Regions from separate parts of the Homo sapiens genome. Here region 1 is linked to region 2. Evidence: promoter capture Hi-C in human tissues and cell types (Jung and others, 2019). All regions are on one chromosome and are shown on one strand. Each heading gives the region's core, a stretch centred on a gene start or on the middle of the fragment in contact. The rest is flanking DNA. Distances are from core to core; before and after follow the strand shown.

Region 1 (3,859 bases), core at 732-3,231, 210 kb before region 2:
TCATCCTCTGGGACCACCATTATCTATCTGTCCTTTGTTTACTTTGTCTTATACTTAGAATGCCTTCATTTGCCATCAGCTTTCCTTCAAACCTTCACTTTCCACTGAGGAATTCCAAGACAATTCAAGTTAAAACACAAATTTCACCATCCATGAAATGGTAACTTAAGAAAAAAAAAAAAAAAAAAGAACAATCACACCAAAAATATATTCCTTAGATCTTAGTGATTTTAATTGCTGGTAAAAAAAAAAAGTTGCCAATGGATCTAATTAGACAGTAATTTCAGAAACAACATTGTATGGTATTTTTGTGGAATGTACAGCCTTCTGGGGAAAAGGAAAACCAAGAATCAGGGCTAAAGTATTGATAACTTCTTATTTTATTATTTTTTTGAGACGGAGTCTCGCTCTGTTGCCCAGGCTAGAGTGCAGTGGCGTGATCTCGGCTCACTGCAACCTCCACCTCCCAGGTTCAAGCAATTCTCCTACCTGTTAGAGGTGCACACCACCACGCCAAACTAATTTTTTGTATTTTTAGTAGAGGCAGGGTTTCACCATGTTGGCCAGGCTGGTCTCTAACTCGTAACCTCAGGTGATCTGCCCACCTTGGCCTCCCAAAGTACTGGGATTACAGGCGTGAGCCATTGCGCCCGGCCAATAACTTTTTAAAACAGTATACTTCTTCCTAAAATTTGTGGATCCTGGCTGGGCGCGGTGGCTCACGCCTGTAATCCCAGCACTTTGGGAGGCCGAGGCAGGCGGATCACGAGGTCAGGAGATCGAGACCACGGTGAAACCCCGTCTCTACTAAAAATACAAAAAATTAGCTGGGCGCAGTGGCGGGCGCCTGTAGTCCCAGCTACTCAGGAGGCCAAGGCAGGAGAATGGTGTGAACCTGGAAGGCGGAGCTGGCAGTGAGTCGAGATCGCACCACCGCATTCCAGCCTGGGCGACAGAGTGAGACTCCGTCTCAGAAAAAAAAAAAAAAAATTTGTGGATCCTAACAGAAGCTTAAGTAGTTCAGATTGGCTTACATTATTTGCTTTATTTCTTTAAAATTTTCCCAAATTTCTGGACTTTGTAAGAAACAAAATTGCTCTTGTGACAAATTCTTTGTGGCTTGGGAAATGTCAACTTTCTAATTAAGGTAAGTTTGCCTCCCAAAGAAGTGTTAAAACTTGGAATCAAATGAAACGAAGCCCCTTGTTCTGCCTACCCCCTTGCCTCTTTGTATGTTATTTTTGGTCTCCCTTTATCACTAAGCCTGTAGGCTAGGTCCAGCAGCTGGCTGCACATAGCACGCCAGTGTGGTGCAAAGTTCCGTGTGGCATTCCTTCAACTTAAGTCTCACTCAGGATTACCTACAGTCACCAAAGCCTTGAAGGACATTGTAGGGACATGGCCGTGCATTATGTACTCTGGTACATGCATTGGAACTGTCCTGTGAAAAGCTAGACCTGAAGTGACTGCTGGCTCCAGGTGAAGTGGGGCTACAAGCACAGAGACCAGACCTCCCTTCAGGGTAGAAGCCTCTCACCTTTTCTTGTTCATGGACCTCTGTCCATTCAGTAAAACTTATTTTCCTCCCCTGCTACCTAGAAAAACAGGCATGTAGATACATTTTGCATAAAATTTCAAATAACCCAGTGACCTACTGGAAGAACCCTTGCTTTGGAAGCCGGGTTAGTTTTCTGACAGCAGCATTTGCCTTTCCAAGTACAGTAGGTTTCCAGTGGGTTTCCCCTGAGCTGCTGGACTTCCTTCCTCTGAGTGGGTGACTGCTCCAAGGATAGTCAGGTGTCTGGGGTTAAGATACAAGCGATTCTCTTCCACAGAGTTCCATAGCTGGTGGTAGCCACTTACTCTGTGGGCACATTTGTCTCTTCTGGATTACACAGTGTTAGTTATCAAGCATACTATAAAACCAATCCAAATCAAGAAATCGGGAATGCTAATAGAATCCTGCTCTCCACTTGGAAAGACTTTTTGTATCTTTACCTTTAGAGACTATAAAAGTAAAGGATCCGTTTAGTCTTCAAATCATATTCTTCAGGCTAGACATGGAATCCAGTTTATCCTTGTGGCTTGGCACGAACCCATCCACAAATCAAGACCATTACCATTTTACTTAGTCATGATGGGTTCCTTATTAACCAACCAACCAACCAACCATACGTTTTCTTTTTAGTTTGGGACAGACATACAGGATGACTTGTTCTTTCAAGTTGTGAAAGTATTCGGCAATATCTGCCAGTTTTTGGATACTCCTCCTCTGTCCCCCCTTCTCTACCCACCGCCCCTCATTTTCAATCACTATCTGTAGACTTATCTGTAAGGGTTTGGTTTTTTTTTAGGTGTTTCTTATATTGGGTTTTTTTTCGGTTATTTGAATGAACCACAGAGAAATATATCCATGAAATTTATATATCAGAAAAATACATAAGCTTAGTAGAGAGAATACATATTTAAGAGAGGGGCTGCAGAATTACTGTGGGGGTAGCAGAAGTCTAGTTCAGACTGTCTTCATTATGATGGGTTTCAGCGGCCCACAAAGGATGAGGAAGGAGGAAGGAGGGGCGAGGCCTTTCTTTGAAATGTAAATTGAGCCAAAGTTCCTAATTTTATAATCATCTGACCATAAAACATCTAATTGAGGGGCTGATTTTTTATGAGGCATTTTGGAATGCAGATTTTGTTGTATTTAACCCTGAGTTTTCAACCATTGTTGCTTGATAATCACATAAAGGTTACTTGACATTTTAGCAGGATGTGGCCCTCATAATCAAACTATAGTATGTAACTTGGATCTAGTCCTAAAGTAGGATTGCTGGACAAATTCCCAAACTATAAATTAAATAGGCATGATGGAAATTAGGAGCAAGTTGTTGATTATTTAATATGCATGAAATTGAATTGATTTGTTCTTTTTATCTGTTTTTTCCTAAAGGTGAGACTGCTGCTCCTCGGGCCATTTTGACCGGCCATGACTATGAGGTCACATGTGCTGCGGTGTGTGCGGAGCTAGGCCTGGTGTTGAGTGGTTCACAAGGTAAACCTGTGGTACCTTCACAAAATGGATGCATTTCTTGCTGTCTTCTAGAAACAAATTACCAAAGATTAATTTGGTACCTTTTTTCTAAAGCTTCTGTCTGTTATGATAGCCATTAGTCATATGGAACTATTTAAATTATTTAAAATTAAATAAAATTAAAATGTAAGTTTCTTCGTGGCACTAGCCACATTGCAGGTCCTCAGTACTCACATATGGCTAGTGGCCACTACATTGGACAGCACAGATACAGATCATTTCCATCATTGTAGAAAGTTCTGTTTCACAGCACTGCTCTAAGGAGTTTAAGATGTTTTTACAAACATATCCTGTTAATATTCATATTCCCCTGAAGCAGGAACAAGGAACGTCTTTGTATATTTGTTTATTCTTCTGAGCTATTACTGGGCCAGGTTCCGTCTTATATCTGAATGGAAGCCCCTGACCCTGTCTGTTTTAATGAGGCAGGGGCCACAGTGGCATTGAGAGTGGAGTAGAAAGATACTTAAGCTGGTTTGCCTGGAGGTTTGTGCTGGAAACAGCATTATATATTTAGGCCCAAGATATTAAGCGAGCTTAGAGCACATGCAACAAATCAGGATCTGACTAGGAATGGAGCTGTTTCCAATTCGTTGCTTACTTATCCCATCATAATAGTCTATCCATCTCTCTGTCTCTGCTCTGAGCTGAAGTCTGAACACACAACAAAGTATTATATCTCACATCTTTTGGGTTTATCTGGTGGGGAAACAGAGTATTTGGATCAGCTCCTCTGTGTCCTAAAATGTAATACTTATTAGTCTAGTTAAT
Region 2 (3,954 bases), core at 981-3,480:
GCCTAAGTTTCCTCATCTATAAAATGGGGATAATGCCTTCAGGACAGAAAAGCATGCTGAGATAATATAAGAAAAACATCTGGCTTGATGTTCAGCTTCCTCTCCCTGCCAAGCTATTGCTATGACTACATGGAATGTGCCATTTGCATTAAGAAAGATGCACAAGAGCGGACTGTATGTAAACACGCAGTCAGCACATACCTGGGTTCTGCCTGGTCTTTCTGGATGTTATTTAGAACTGGAAACAGGTTCTTAACCACTGATAATGCCTTTTCTACCTGAAAAGGATGAGGCATACGTATTGCAGGAATTCAAGGATGACCCAACATCCAGCCAAGCAGTCTCTTTGACCGAGGCATGGTTGACACAGCAGAATTACTAATTTTTAATAAGTCCCCACTGCTGAATCCAATGGCCTCTATCATTCTAATTAGGTACTCTTATTAGAGGATAAGGCTGGAGAGATTGACCTTGATTTACCTTTTTTCCAACCAAATGTGGAAAACCCTTTAGCACGGTGATTGTTAACCAGGGTCCCACATTAGAATCACCTGGGGGGGGGGCTTTTGAGACTCCAGACGCCTAACCCACACCCCAAACCCAACCAATTTAATCAGGATATCTGGGGGTTGGGGGATCAGGGTCCCATATTTTTCGAAGTCCCCAGTGTGATCCAAGATGAAGCCAAGGTTGAGACCTGCTGTCTAGGATCATCCCTCTTCACCTCAAGTAACTTCTGCTGCAAGGCAAACTAGGAAAGCCAACCTAGAGCATTTCACAACCACAGCTTCTGACAGCAGTCACAACAGGACCCCGAATACTGGAACATGACAGGAGCCTGCACCAGGGTCCACACCGAGGGTCCAACAGAGCTTATTAGTAGGGGATTACCCAGCTCCCCATGGGAGAACCATTTTCTCAAACAGTTTGCACTTCAATACAAATAAGTTCAACAATCTTAGGAGATGCCACCAGTGCCTAAATTGGCCTGACCATCAGGAAATTTTTTCCTTCTTTAAGAGACAAACCTCTTGGGAAGGAAAGTCAGTGTGTATGTGGGCACCCCACCGGCCCCCACCCCCAGCCAATCTCTAGAGAAGCAGACAGAAGCATCAATTCCCGTGCGGCTTGGAAAGCACCCCGCGGGCTCCCCGCTGCGCCGGCTCACGCCCACTGCACCTGCCGGCGCTCCGCCGCACCTGCCGTGCGGCGCCCTCCCCTCCTACCTTCCAGCAGCTCGTCCAGGCTGGTGACCTTCCGGCTGCCGTCGATGGTGTAGATAGTGCGGACACCCTGGGGCAGGTTCACGTTGTCCGACAGGGAGCGGGTGAGCTCTATGAGGAGCGCATCGAAGGACCGGAAGCGGTCGCTGGAGATGGCAAACACCAGGCCCTTGAAGTAGCGGTCCCCGTTCCGGTAGAAGCGCGCCTTCTTGGCCTTCTTCTCCGAGCTGAGGGCCTGCAGGGTCCGCGTGCGGTAGAAGCTGCAGTGGGCACTGTGCGCCGGACTGGGGATGAGCCCGTTCCCCTTGGGGCCCGAGCTGCTGCTGCCCCCGGAGGAGCTGGGGGCCCCTCTCCGCGACCCCGGCCGCGGCCTTTTGTCCCGTTCCTCAAAGTGCTCCAGCTCGATACTCCTGGTGCTGGCCATCGCGGCTGCTCCGAGGGCGTCCGCAAAAAGACGTTCCGGGCCGACTAAGGGTGCGAGCGCCGGTGCAGGGACGTCTGACTGCGAGGGCCCTTAACGCGCCGGGACACCTGGCTCTGGCATCCCGCCCTCTCCGCGCAGGTGGGGCCGAGGAGCCGCGGAGGAGCCGACCCGCCCGCGCCCTCAGCTAAAAGTGTCCGCAGCGCCGAGCTGCCCAGGTCATTGTCCAGTGCGACTTGCTCCGTGCCTCCCGCCTGCCGGGGAGCCCCACGCCCCCGCAAGCGCCTCCTCCACCCGGCCACGCCTCACAAGTCCCGCTCGGGAGCCGACCGGGAGAGGCAAAGTTGGGCCGCCCGAGGCTCGCGCTGGGCCCGCGGGCGCCCACAAAGCTCGGGCGTCTGCCGAGCGCTCCCGGGAGCGCCGAGGGGAGGAAGGAAGGAAGGGTGGGGCGGGGCGCGGAGCGTGGGAGAGGCCCCCGGGGGAGTCGCGCGGGCCCAGGCCCGGGGTGCAGCGCCGCCGCCTCGGCCGCGCCCGGATCCCGCCCGCCGGGCAGCGCGCGCCGTTCGGGGCTGAGAGGGCCGTGTCTGGCCCCTTCCTTCCCTGGAGCGCGGCCCTAGCGGGAAATAATGCAGCCCGCCTCCCACGCAGCGGTCAGGCCCGGCCCACTGGCAAGCATCCGCGCTCTGGCCTCCCTCCGCCGCCGACAGGCTGTCAGCGCTGGAGGAGGCTTCCCGGCCCCGGGGATGCCAAACCGCGGAGAAGGGGAGGAGGGGGCGGAGGAGGGGGCGGAGGAGGGGGCCGAGCGCCGGCGCGGGAGGAGCAGCTCCTGCGGGTCCCGGGCAGCCCCGCCCGCCTGACGGCTCCTGCCCGGCGCCGCGCGTTAATGGGCGCAGCCGCGACGCGCGCTCCTCCGCCTGGGAAACGTAACCGCGCAGGCCAAAAACTACAAAGGAAGGAGATTCAAGGGCAGGGAGCACATCCCCAGCCAGCATCCCAGTGAGGACCCCAGGCCAAACTACCGCAGAAATCCGAAGCCCAGCATTGACTTGGGGCACACCATTCATTTTTTTTAAAAAAGATTTGTTGCTTTATTAGAAAATCCTTTGAGAAAACAGCCTCCACTGTTTCCATTGCAGATTCGCTAATATGGTACGTTCAGTAACTTTGAATGAATGATGAGAAGTTATTGGGTGGTAGAGGGGGTTATGTAATCAACGAATATTTATCGAGAGCGTACCATGTGTCAGGCATTGTTTCTGTCACTGGGATGCCCTAACAAAGGAAAGAGAGACTCTGCACCCACTCCCCCCGCCCCGCATATTTAATGTTGTCAATTAAAGCTTCTTACCTAAGAGGCCTATCATTTGTGAGCACCCATCATAGTGGAAATCTTAATGCCGTAGTGTCTATTCAACAATAAAAACATCTTTTCCAAGACTTAAGAGAAATACTAGTTACTTGCATTTTGTTATTAGGAAAAATAAAGCTCAAATATGTTTGATCCCAATTTGGCACGTGAAACCTTAGAACATTCAACACCTGGTTTTCTGAGCAGCCCTAGACAGCAATCCAAACTGACCTTTCAGGAAGAAAGGCATAGTTGCTTTTTTTCGGGTTGAACTGAGTCCTGGAAGAGCATGAATAAAAGAAGGTAGAAGCACATGCAACGGTCTAGCATCTGTGAAGTTGGTGCGCCCCACCAAACACACGCACACACACGCATACACACCCTTCATGGCAGCTCCAGAAAGGTCTCCTGCTCGGTGCACAATACTACTCCTAAGGCAGTTCTGGGCATACACCTGGGCATACCTAACTTCCTGCGGGGTTGGGGCATGCTAGGAAGTCAGAGCTGATCTGAGGCTTCAATGTAGTTTTTCTAGAGGAAAATCCTGCAGCATCATTAGGTCCACCACCTTAAAAGGCCTCAACCTAGATCAGTTAAATCAGAATTTCTGGAGACGGGCTTCTCCAACAGTATTTTTTTAAAAGTACCCCTAAGGTATATCCAGAGTTTCCAACCACAGGCTGTAACACCAGGAATCAAATAAATCAGTGCTTCTTCTCAAACTTTAATATATTTACATGTCATAGGGGAATCTCGTTAAAATGCAGATTGCTATTCTGTAGCTCTGGGGTGGAGTTTGAGATTCTGCATTTCTGATGAGCCCCTGGGTAATGCCAATGCTGCTGGTCTTGGTACAAGACTTTGAGAAACAAGAAACTAAATTGCAAATTTATTGAGATAAGTTTCCATCTAAGTACCAGTAACTCCACAGAGCCCATCAACTTGCCTTAAGATGGCCATGT

The links. Contacts are between HindIII fragments. The study calls those that stand out against the background at their distance.
Region 1: a fragment that was not itself captured here is called in contact with the fragment with the promoter of DCLK2 in region 2 in 2 of the 25 tissues and cell types used here (IMR-90 fibroblasts and hippocampus).

The regions. Positions count from the first base shown.
Region 1 is chr4:150,285,123-150,288,981 of GRCh38, reverse strand. LRBA (LPS responsive beige-like anchor protein) reads left to right here. Exons shown (of 57, transcript NM_001364905.1): 54 at 2,948-3,049. Among named protein-coding and RNA genes, the nearest start is that of DCLK2, 210 kb to the right of the region's middle. RefSeq lists an enhancer at 335-835. The HindIII fragment of the contact is 4,591 bases long and covers 1-3,859 here.
Region 2 is chr4:150,076,721-150,080,674 of GRCh38, reverse strand. DCLK2 (doublecortin like kinase 2) reads right to left here and starts at 2,230. Exons shown (of 16, transcript NM_001040260.4): 1 at 1,227-2,230. The coding sequence starts at 1,647. The HindIII fragment of the contact is 8,036 bases long and covers 1-3,753 here.